Linked DNA regions of Homo sapiens: all the other regions are linked to region 1. Evidence: promoter capture Hi-C in human tissues and cell types (Jung and others, 2019). All regions are on one chromosome and are shown on one strand. Each heading gives the region's core, a stretch centred on a gene start or on the middle of the fragment in contact. The rest is flanking DNA. Distances are from core to core; before and after follow the strand shown. Region 1 holds the start of ATP12A (ATPase H+/K+ transporting non-gastric alpha2 subunit). Region 2 overlaps RNF17 (ring finger protein 17). Region 3 overlaps LOC105370117 (a long non-coding RNA gene).

Region 1 (4,027 bases), core at 1,115-3,614:
CAGCTTAAGGTGAGCAGCAGCCACCTGTTCCCAAAAAACCCTTAGCTTGGATTATCAGCAGACAGTGGAACATCAGTTTCGTACACATTTTGTATTTCTCACCCCATCTGCAAACCTTTCCTTTGAAGAGTATTCCAAGAATGGAACCCAGAGCTCCCCAGAAGCACACTGTTGCTTGGGTTTGGACTAGAATTTAATGTTCCCTCCAACTCTAGAGAATCCATGATGTGTATCTTTACACCAGATGCCACTAGGAGTCTTCCTGTCCCTTATCATTTTAGTTAAGAAGTGACTCATTGCTGTCATCCTTGCTTCACAGAGGGAGGAACCCAGGCTTCAGATTCTGCCCTTTTGGAACGGAAGAAGGAGGGAGAGCGGGGAAAGACCTATGTGTGCAGCACTATGGAGACAGTTCACTATGTCGGGTACAACACATTCCCTTAGTCTCATTTGAAAGCCATGATGAACAGAGAGGTGTGGAAAATCTAAGATCACAAATATGCCATGAGAAAGTATCTTTGTCTCTACTGCTACTTTACAAAACCACGTCTCTAACTGCTAACACTTCAAATTCCCTCAAAATAAGCTTCTTTTCCCAATTGTCCCTCACCACCAACTATAGTCATGCTCTGAAATTATTATGGAAATTTAGCATCTGAAAGGAACAGGAAGTTATAATTAATTCCTAATTAGAATTGGGCACAAGCTTTTTTTTCTTATTTTTTTTTTAATTTTTTTATTGTGACAGAGTCTCGCTCTGTCGCCCAGGCTGGAGTGCAGTGGCGCGATCTCCACTCACTGAAAGCTCCACCGTCTCCCGGGTTCATGCCATTCTCCTGCCTCAGCCTCCCGAGCAGCTGGGACTACAGGCGCCCACCACCATGCCCGGCTAATTGTTTTGTATTTTTAGTAGAGATGGGGTTTCACCGTGTTAGCCAGGATGGTCTCGATCTCCTGACTTCGTGATCCGCCCGCCTCGGCCTCCCAAAGCGTTGGGATTACAGGCGTGAGCCACCGCGCCCGGCCGGGCACAAGCTTATTGTTTTTCTTCTACCTTTTCTAAATGTACCCAATGCTCTTCATGTTTTCTGCCAGATGTTCTAGTCACTGCATGATGGGATTGTTACTTTTGCTGCTTCTCTGGACTCCTCACTCTTAGTCATTTTAAATATGGTCAAAATGACAATCTTTCTTACCATATTTGATATATAACTTTCAAAAAGAATAAAACTTAGCACCCTCCTATTAGTCCTTATCTAAATGGAAACTTATTAGCAGAGCATCAAGGGCCCAATAAAGTGCCCCCTCTTTTGAAACTTATCTCTACTCCCTTTCATATATTTCAATCATGTCAATTTCTTATTGTTCTTCTAAATAGGTGCTGATTACTAAACTCTATTCGTGGGTTTTATTTTTTATGTTCCTCTCCATTAATTAATATTCTTCACTGACTTTAAGACTTCACGATTCATTCTTTTAAAAGAACGTGTTTGATTTCCTCCACTGTTAACTGCTAAATATCTCTCTGATATATTGTTTTCAGGCTATCTTTCTCATCTGGAGTAATTATGTTTCAAGTGTCAGGGGGAAAATACCTTTTCTATCCTGTGCAAAAACTCATGCTGGGCACTAAGAGCATGGAGCATGTCCCAGTTATCTATTGCTGCATAACAAACCAACCCAAACTTAGCAGTATAAAACAACCACTGCTTTAGTATGCACATCAACTTTCAGGGTCAGAAATTCTTTTCTCCTTCATGTATAGAGTCTCAGCTGGGAGTGACATAAATAGGTGGAGACAGACCTCTCCAGCCCAGTCCAGCCAACAGCCTCCGCTCCTGCGCACCCGCAGCCTGGGGCCCCAGGTTCCTGTGGTCTCACCGACCCTAATCCTCTCATCTCTCCTCCCCATTCCCTCTCCAAATTGTTTCAGAATTCCAAATTCTTATCTGGATCCGGCAAATTAATTCAGCTACTCTTCAGAGTCTCTCAGTTATTCCCAAATTCTCTCGGAAGCTTGAATTTACCTATCTAAATCCATTCTCAAAAACACATTGGCCTTTTCTAGCCGGGACATCTCCAACAGTAGTTGCTGTTAGAAACTGCAATTTCCCCTTCTCTGCATACACATTTTTATAAATTGATTTATTGGTAGGCAAATTACATTTTTAAAAAAAGGCATGTGTGGGTTTTCAGGGAAGCCTGGACAGGACGTGGGCGTGCCGGGAGCTCGCCGGAGCAGCTGGTCCGGCTCTGGGCGCCCAGCGGAACCAGGGCTGTACTCACCTGGATGCCGGACCCGCCCCCTAGAGACCCCGCCCCCTGGCGTTCGGCTACTAAAGGGAAGGGGATTCCCAGGGGGTCCTCAATCCTGGACTCTCCCGACCCCTAGCTGTCGGTCCCCCTCCCTGCGCGCGCGCCGGCGGGTTTCCTACCCTCCGAGGCGTCCGCTGGCCTGCGCCCTGGCGGGGACGTGGGCGGGGCGGGCGGCATTTAAGGCTGGTGCCACCTCCCCGGTGCAGCGGCTGGCGATCGGCCGCGGAGGTGCGTGCAGGGCCCGCGCCGCCGCCGGTATCTCCACCGCCAACACCTCAGCCACTGCCACTGCCACAGCCACACGAGGCCCCCCACCGTGCGCTCCGCCGCTGCGGTCCCGGATCCGCGCTCCACGCCCGCAGCCCGCGGCGCCACCAGCCCAGCATGCACCAGGTGCGTGCAGCCCCCGCGCCGGCCGAGGATGCGAGACGCTGGGCCAAGGCCCCGGGGACCGGAGCAGGCTGACGGGAAGCGAGGAAAAGGCGAAGAGGAGAAACGCCCCGTCCCGGGGCAAGGGGAGGCCGCCTTTCCTCTGAGCGCCCCCCGGCCTGGGCACCGCTTCTCTGACTCCCCGCCACGGCTCCGTGCGGCCGCCGGGGCTGGCTGGGGAAAGAAGCCAGTCCAGAGGAGCGAGAAGGGGCCAAGGGGTCCTAGGCCAGCTCCATGGCACCTGCGGGCTCCGACTCGGAGGATGGGGTGACATGGATTCGTTGCGGTCTGAAAAGACTTCCGGTTAGGGCCCCCTGATCAGGACTGAGGGTCGTAAGCTTAGTGGGTGCCTCCTCCCCAAGAAACAGGACGCACAGCTGTTGTGTCCCCTGGGAAGGACACCTCAGAGGAAACCTCGAGGTGCCTAAGGAACCTCGAGGTTCTAAGGAAACCTCACAGCTCCTTGGAGGCATCAGTCAGGAGTTGGGGGGGTAACTTCCCACCTGCTCCACCCAGAGAAGGGTCACCCTGAGGAGCTGCTGGCTGGCCTGTGCCCACCCCGCCTCCCCTCTACACGGACGGAGAGGAAGCCAAGGTCGGCGGGAGGTGGGGGAGAGACTCCACTGTCCGACTCCCTCCGGCCTCCCCAGAGGAGGGAAGGAAAGGGAGAAGGGGCTCCTGACTCCTGCAGGTCCTGACCCCGCAGAGGGGCGCTCAGCACCTCTTCGGAAACCCCATTTGGGGCCAATATTGCACCTGGGCTTCTCTTTCAGAAAACCCCAGAAATTTACTCCGTGGAGCTCAGCGGAACTAAGGACATCGTGAAAACAGACAAGGGGGATGGCAAGGAGAAGTATAGGGGTCTGAAGAACAACTGCCTGGAACTCAAAAAGAAAAATCACAAAGAGGAGTTTCAGAAAGAACTCCATCTGGTCAGTAGCCTTAAGCCACGGGGTCCTGCCGGCTATGGCCCTTCCCCGCAAGAGCTTGCCCCTAGAACCCACCTCTTACCACAGACATTCAGTCTGAGGGATTTGAAATCCCCTTGAGATTGTGTGTGGTGTGTGGTGTCTGCGTGGTGTGTCTGTGTGGTGTGTGTGTGTGGTGTATGTGTGGTGTGTGTGTATGTGTGGTGTGTCTGTGTAGTGTGTGGTGTGTGTGTGTATGTGTGGTGTGTGGTGTATGGTGTGTGGTGTGTGTGTATGGTGTGTGGTGTGTGTATATGGTGTGTGTAGTGTGTGGTGTGTGTATGTGTGTGGTGTGTGTGTATGGTGTGTGTGTA
Region 2 (4,027 bases), core at 590-3,089, 200 kb after region 1:
CGCCTGGGAAAGCTTCACCAGAGAGTCCTTCACCACCACAGTGCTCCTGCTCATTCCTCTCATCAAACAAGAGCAATTTTGCAAGAGTTTTACCTAAATCATTAGGCATCCACTTTACAGTTCTGATTTGGCCCTTTCTAACTTGTTTTTTGTTTCCTAATCTTACAAAGTATTTAAAGGGCGCCCATTTTTGTCCAGTTAATAATGTAAGAAAGATCACATTGACATGGTTATATTCCCAGGACCCTCAGTTCTTAAGGGATGGAATAAAGGGTTGTTACCATAGCTTACAAATGTGTCATGATCTTGATGGAACTTATGTTGAGAAATAAAGTTTACATTTTTTATTTTCATCTTAATTTCATTTTTCCATGAACTTTTTGAAGCCCCCTCATACAGTATATACTACATCTTATTTATCCCTTCCCTGGAAGGTGGAACTTGGGTTGCTCCCCGCTTTTGGGTCTTGTGAATAATGCTTCTGCGAACACGGGTATACATTTATCTCTTTGAGTACCTTCTTTCAATTATTTTGGGTATATACCCAGAAATGGAACTGCTGGATCATATGGTCTATGCTTAATTTTTGAGGAACCTCCATGCTGTTTCCCATAGTGGCTGCGCCATTTTACATTCTCACTAAGAGTGCGCAAAGGTTCCAATTCCTGCATATCCTCACCAGCACTTGTAATTTTGTTGTGTTATAATAGCCATTCTAGTAGGTGTGAGGTGGAGTCTCACTTTGGATTTGACTTGCATTTCCCTAATGATTAGTGACGTGGAACATCCTGTCATGTGCTTGTTGGTCATTTGTAGATCTTTAGAGTAATGTCCGTGTTTATGTGTATTTTCTCCCATTCTGTAGGTTGCCTTTTTGTTCCGTTGTGTCCTTTGATACACAGAAGTTAATTTTTTTAGGAAGTCCATTTTATCTGATTTTTCTCATTTTATCTGATTTTTCTCATGCTTTTGGTGTCGTATCCAAAAAAATCACTGCAAAATCCAATGTTATGAAGCGTTTCCCCTATGTTTTCTTCTAAGAATTGGATAGTTTCAGCCGGAAGAGAATTTTAATGTAAGAATTTCTTTTGTGACAGACTGTGCCAAATTCCTTCTCATCTTATGCGGTATCCAGCTCGAGCCATAAAGGTTCTCTTGGCAGGGTTTAAACCTCCCTTAAGGGATCTAGGGGAGACAAGAATACCATATTGTCCCAAATGGAGCATGGAGGCACTGTGGGCTATGATAGACTGTCTTCAAGGAAAACAACTCTATGCTGTGTCCATGGTAAGTGTCTCAAGTAGCCAAAATTATTGTAAAGCTATTTCTGTGTCGATACTTTGTAAAGTGTTTGTTTCTATGCAGCGTCTACATGCGAGAGTATACTAAAGCATATACAGCTATATAGGATATAGTTTATATGTATAGCTTTATATATACATATAAAGCTTAATTTTGAGGCTTGTTAAAATGTCTTAGTTTATATTTAACAAACTGCTTACCCCTGTGGTGATATAAAATATCATTTATGTAATTAATAAAATGCTCAAGATGAGTATCCCATAATTAACTTATAATGGGGAAACAAATATGCAAACAAGTATGAGGTTGAATGAAATAAGTACTATAACAGAGCTATAGCTAACTTTGTGGGTGGGGGAAGCGTAAGAAGAAATGATTATTTGCATCTGGAGAGGACAGGAAAGGGTGTTTGAGCTGCTACTTAGAAGCCACTCAAGTATTTAATTGAATAAGTAAAACAGGAATGTGGCATTTCACCTGCATCCTAAAAGAAGAGTGGGAAAGAAAGAATGGTAGTTCTGCTCATTATAGAAAGGCTTGAATTATGCTAATTGTACTAATCTCATAATTGTACTACTTATTTGATGTAGTAGAACCTGTGTCAAAAGGTCAACTAAAAAACTCCAGACTGCATTTAATGTAAATGTTTTCTTCTTAGGCTCAGCATGTCACAGTAGCCCACAGGCAGAATCTGGCCTGTACCTTGTTTTATTTAGCACACAGTGTTTTAAAGTTGGAAATTTTACCCAAAAAGTCTGTATTTCTGGCCCTGATTAGATATTCTAAAAACTAGGAATCCTGGGTCTCCCCATCCCTCTGAAATGGCAGTCAGCTGAAAGTGTAGCCACAGCCCCTTAGATAGGAACATGTGATGTTCAGTTCACCTAGTCCTCACTGCTGGTGTGCAGCTCAGCCTGCTTCCCTCCTTTGTGATTCCTGCCTGGTGCCATGATTTGGGGATTCCTGACACACTGGCTATGACAAAAATGAGCTCATAATCAGTCAGCATGGTTCCTGGAAAGTGCTTTTTGAAAACCTGTGTATATATGCTATTGCATGTGCAGAGTGGTATGAATAGCTCATACAGGGTTTCTCTCAACCCAGTGAAAAAAGGGCAAGTATTTCTTATAGATAGGTATTTTTTCACTTCTCTAATATTCAGAATTTTGTCAGTATATAAGGATAAGCAGAACCATAGGATATATGAGAGGATTTATTACGGGAATTGGCTCACACAGTCAAAGGTGAAGTCCTATGATAGCTGTCTGCAAGCTGGAGAACCAGAGAAGCTGGTAGCGTGGCTCAGTCTGGAGGCCTCAGAACTAGGGAAGCTGACAATGCAGCTGCTAGTCCAAGGCCAAAGAGCCCCTGGGAGGTCACTGGTGCAAGTTCTACAGTCCAAAAACCAAAGAATCTGGAGGCTGATGTCTGAGGGCAAGAGGAGAAAAGGTGTCCCCCACTTAGGAAGGAAAGGAGAGCAGAGAACCCCCTTTCTGCCTGTCTCCCAGCCAGCTGGATGTCCCCTGCCCACATAGAGAGTGGGTCTTCCTCTCTGTCCACTGATTTAGCATCAGTCTCCTCTGAAAACACCCTCACAGACACACCTAGAAATGCTTCACCAGCCATTGAGGCATCCCTCAATCCAGCCAAGTTAACAACTAATATTAACCATCACAGTCAGTTTATGCATAAAGGTATAATGCTTTGTGTGGAATGCAAATGAACTGTAACAAGGGATGGTGGTGACAAAGCCCACTGGCTTCATTTAGGAAGACCTTGTGAGAAGGAATTTAAAGAGAGCAGAAGAATGGAAAGAATGGGATTTTGCAGGAAACCACTACAGATGCCTTTTGGAAGCATAGAGCATAAATTATCAATAGGCCCCTGAGAACACCTTTTCACACCCGTGTGAATGGCCAGATATGAGAGGGAAAAGGCAGCAAAGACATTACTGTTTTCTTGACAACTGTATCTTTTAATTTTAGGCTCCAGCACCAGAACAGATAGTGACATTATATGACGATGAACAGCATCCAGTTCATATGCCGTTGGTAGAAATGGGGCTTGCAGATAAAGATGAATAAGTGCCTAAGTGTAAGTTCTCATTCTCTTCATAGCATAAGGCATGGGACTAGTGGAGATGAATGCTAGATTGATCAGAAAAGCACCCGTGGATTTTCCTTGATTTCTCAAAGGAATGACAGCAACGCTCCACCAGATTTCTTCATAGGCCCTTCTCACCTATTCAGCACTAGTATCAAAGAGGTCCCCTATCTGTAAGGATGCCTGGATGGGCTGTCATGACTCTGACAGTACCAGGGTACATAGGGAGAGCAGGAGAGAGTGGCCACTGTAAATAATTTTAAGCACATAAATATCTGCTAAGCACATAGAACTACTGAGCAGTCACCATCCTCATACCACGTACTTACATGGGTAGCCAGCTAACTTTTTATCTTGTCCATAAGAAATGATTCAGCTAGATTGAACATTTACATTAAGCAAAGGTTTAAAATAACACATTTTATTTTTCAGGTATACAGTGAGAGCATCTATAGAAGCCTAGAAGAATTCTGTTATGTTTAGACTATGTCTTATCTTTAGACTATTTCAGGCTTAATTTTCCTAACTTGTTCAGCACTAGTGCTTTACCTCTCATTTTTAATTGAACTGTTAGGAATTGTGTGGGGAAAAAAAGTAAATAAATGTTCGCTTCCAAACATTT
Region 3 (4,027 bases), core at 1,065-3,564, 160 kb before region 1:
GGGAACAGCTCAGATCATTCGCATCACTGTCTGTGTGGGTGCTCCAGGTCTAATGTGCTGATTGCAGGGCTGCAGAGTTGACTCCTGCATGTTCTCACACGTGGAATAGGAGTTAGGCAGCTGCAGCTCTGCCGTGCCCACACTGTCTGCACAGAAGCAGCATCTAAATATACTGTTACTTAAATCTATGTGAAGGTCACTTTGGAATTTAAAAAATTTCATGATTTTGGCCGGGCATGGTGGCTCATGCCTGTAATCCTAACACTTCGGGAGGCCGAGGCGGGCAGATTGCCTGGGCTCAGGAGTTCAAGACCACCCTGGGCAACATGGTGAAACTGCATCTCTACTAAAAATACAAAAAATTACCTGGGCATGGTGGTGCATGCCTTTAATCCCAGCTACTCGGGAGGCTGAGGCATGAGAATAGCTTGAACCCGAGAGGTGGAGGTTGCAGTGAGCTGAGATTGCACCACTGCACTCCAGCCTCGGCGACAGCAAGACTCTGTCTTAAAAAGATAAATAAATGAATAAATAAAGAAATAAATAAATATTTCATGATTTTGTTAAACATCACTTCCTAATAAAGGGAAAAAATACTTTTGTCACTGTGGAGAAGCCTTTGTGGGGTGGAGTCACTACTGGGGATAAAAGAGAAAATGTTGAAGGAAGTCATCAGCTTTGTTGCTTTTCTTAATTGCAAGGTTTGAGTTTCCTGCCTGATGATCAGAGCCAGAAGCACAGGTCTCCAGGAAATGCCACCACTGGATAGAGAGCCACACGCTGCTTCCTATCATACGTCTACCTGGACCTAACTCAGGAAGAAACATACACTTCCTACATTTTATCCCATAAGCAAAGCAACTTCTGTAGAACTGCCCATGGAGATTTTGTCTTAACTTCAAAAAGTGCTTCTCCTAATTTATTTTCTGTTGCACGGTATCAAGAAGCACCTGTGGAAAAAAAGGATTCAAAAGAAGAAAACCATAACCATCTTACAAGTGAGTTAATTGTGTTCCTCTCTTCTGTACTTAACTCACAGTGTTACTAAGTTGTCCTAAGATAAGAGAAGGCCTTTCTGTGTTTTTTGTTTAAAATTCTTTTTTCAGAGATGGAGTCTTGCTGTGTTGCTCAGGCTGGACTCAAACTCCTGGGCATAAGCAGTCCTCCCCCTTCAGCCTCCCAAGTAGCTGGACTATAGGCATGTGCTTCCCTGCCAGCTCTTGCTCTCATGCTCTCTCTCTGTGTGTGTGTGTGTGTGTGTGTGTGTGTGTGTGTGTGTTTGTCCCCTGTGGCTTTGTTTTTTTTTTTTTTTGGAGACAGAGTTTTGCTCTTTGGCCCAGCCTGGAGTGTAGACGCATGATTTCAGATCACTGCAACCTCTGCCTCCAGGGTTCAGGTGATTTCTTGTGTCTCAGCCTCCCAAGTAGCTGGGATTACAGGTGTGCGCCATTATGCCCAGATAATTTTTTGTATTTTTAGTAGAGATGGGGTTTTATCATGTTGGCCAGGCTGGTCTCGAACTCCTGGCCTCAAGTGATCTGCCACCTTGGCCTCCCAAAGTGCTGGGATTACAGATCTGAGCTACTGCACCCAGCCATAATTTGTCATTGATCACTTTTCAAAAACACGTTTTATCATGCTATTTTCTGTAACTGAACTCAACATGTTTCTACGTTGGTCACTTTTTAGAGACCCATTTTCTTTTTTCTTACTTTTCTATTACACTTTACGTTCTAGGGTACATGTGCACAACGTGCAGGTTTGATACATAGGTATACATGTGCCATGTTTGTTTGCTGCGCCCATCAACTCATTATTTGTTGGGGTGATCAGGCCCAATCCCAGACTGTGGGGGCTACGAAGTCCAGCGGAGTCAAATGAATAAGACAAGATAAGTTAACGGTGCATAAAGTGGGTCCAGGGGGCTGACACTAGTATGGAGGCTGTGAAGGCCCCGAGCTCTGGGAGCCCACACTATTTATTGGTGATCAAACAAAGAAGCAGGCGGTGAGGACATGGGGGTCGAAAGAAAGTGATGCATCAAGTGTTTGATCTATAGCTGTGTCAGTTTAGCATTTTCTTTGAAGCATATGGAACGAGTTCAGTTACAGAAAATAGCACATCATCTAATTTTTTAGCAAAAAGCTAGCATTTACTTTTTAGGGCAAGGTATTTGCATTTTCTGTGTGGGCCTAATATGCTCAAAACTGAGTTTTTTGATATTTGACAGGACGTGTTTTTTTAAACTGCTCTTAGTTAATACATTACTAAATTCAGTGAAAGAAAACAGCACATGTATTATTTGTGTGCTATATCTTGCTTTTAGCATTTAGGGATGTATATGCATATCTTCCTGAAAGTACAAAGTGGGCTCAGAAATGCTTTTTTTAAAGTTGTCTGAAACATTGTTTAAAAAAAGGATCAATATCTAAACATGTTCTGTTCAGTGAAAGAAAGCAGCACATCATCTAGATTTTTGGCACACAGCTTTCATTTACTTTTCAGAGCTAGATATTTGCATTTTCTGTGTGGGCCTACTATGCTCAGAATTGTGTTGTTTGAGATTTGACAAGTTGTGTATTTGAAAACTGCTATTAGTTAATACACGTTGAATTTAGTGAAAAAAAAAAAAACAGTGTATTAGACATTATTTGTGTGCCATATCTTGCTTTTAGCATTTAGGACTGTATTTTCATATCTTCCTGAAAGTTCTAACTAGGCTTTTATTAGTTTTTTTCTGAGTGTGTACAAACGTGTTTTTAAAAATGAATCAATGTCAAAACATGTTGAATTTGGAGAAAAAAACAGCACATCAGGTAGGTTTTTGGTACATAGCTTGCATTTACCTTTTAGGGCCTACTATGCTCAGAATTGTTTTTTCTGAGATTTGACAAGCTGCGTCTTTGAGAACTGCTATACCATGTAGAATTAAGTGAAGGAAACCAGAACATCATCTAGGTTTTTGGCACACCGCTTGTGTTTACCCTTTATGATTAGATATTTGCATTTTCTTTGTTGGCCTACTAAGCTTGAGGTTGTGTTTTCTGAGCTCTGTTTTCTAGATGTGTTTTTGATAATTGTGTTTTCTGAGATGTGTTTTTGAAAACTGCTCTCAGTTAACACATGTTGAATTCAGCAAAAGAAAACTGCACATAACTTATATTTTGGGTGCCATGTCTTGCTTTTAGCATTTGTAGCTGTACATGCATATCTTCCCAGAAGCGCTAACTGGGCTCTGAAATGGTATTTGAGCTTGTACAAAATGTGTTTTTGAAAAGTGATCATGTAAAAGCATCTTAAATTTATTGACAGAAAGCAGCACATCATTTAGGTTTATGGCACAAAGCTGGTGTTTACCTTTTAGAGCTAGATATTCGCATTTTCAATGTGGGCCTACTATGCTCAGAATTAGGTTTTCTGAGATTTGACAAGATGATCTTTGAAAAATGTTCTTAGTTAATACATGTTGAATTCAGTGAACAAAATAGCAGATCATACATATTTTGTGTGCCATATCTTGCTGTTAGCATTTAGGACTGTGTATGCATACATTCCTGGAAGTGCTAACTGTGCTTGGAAATGTTGCTTTTGGAGCTTGTAGAAAACGTGTGTTTAAAAAGTGTTCAATGTCAAGACATGTGGAACTCCGTGAAAAAAACAGCATATAATATATAGGTTTTTGGCAGAAAGCTTGTGTTTACCTCTGACGGCTAGATATTCACATTTTTTGTGTAAGACTACTGTGCTCAGAATTGTTTTCTGACTTGAAAACATGTGTTTCTGAAAACTGCTCTTAGTTAATAAACATTGAATTCAGTGAAACAAAACAGCACATCATCTAGGTTTTTGGCACAAATTAGTGATCACTTTCAGGGCTAGATATTTGCATTCTCCTTTTGGGTTTACTATGCACAGAATTGTGGTTTTTGAGATTTTACAAGATGTGTCTTTGAAAAGTGCTTTTAGTTAATACATGTTGAATTAGTGAAGCAAAACAGCACATCATACATTATTTGTGTGCCATATC

The links. Contacts are between HindIII fragments. The study calls those that stand out against the background at their distance.
Region 2: a fragment that was not itself captured here is called in contact with the fragment with the promoter of ATP12A in region 1 in 1 of the 25 tissues and cell types used here (dorsolateral prefrontal cortex).
Region 3: a fragment that was not itself captured here is called in contact with the fragment with the promoter of ATP12A in region 1 in 1 of the 25 tissues and cell types used here (dorsolateral prefrontal cortex).

What each region holds. Positions count from the first base shown.
Region 1 is chr13:24,678,044-24,682,070 of GRCh38, forward strand. ATP12A (ATPase H+/K+ transporting non-gastric alpha2 subunit) reads left to right here and starts at 2,365. Exons shown (of 23, transcript NM_001676.7): 1 at 2,365-2,709; 2 at 3,519-3,677. The coding sequence starts at 2,701. RefSeq lists a silencer at 2,413-2,722 and an enhancer at 3,916-4,027. The HindIII fragment of the contact is 3,620 bases long and covers 1,526-4,027 here.
Region 2 is chr13:24,875,900-24,879,926 of GRCh38, forward strand. RNF17 (ring finger protein 17) reads left to right here. Exons shown (of 36, transcript NM_031277.3): 34 at 1,098-1,287; 35 at 3,288-3,396; 36 at 3,838-4,022. The coding sequence ends at 3,386. Among named protein-coding and RNA genes, the nearest start is that of CPAP, 45 kb to the right of the region's middle. The HindIII fragment of the contact is 6,934 bases long and covers 1-4,027 here.
Region 3 is chr13:24,517,046-24,521,072 of GRCh38, forward strand. LOC105370117 (a long non-coding RNA gene) reads left to right here. Exons shown (of 3, transcript XR_941756.2): 2 at 702-998. Among named protein-coding and RNA genes, the nearest start is that of PARP4, 6.3 kb to the left of the region's middle. The HindIII fragment of the contact is 3,259 bases long and covers 686-3,944 here.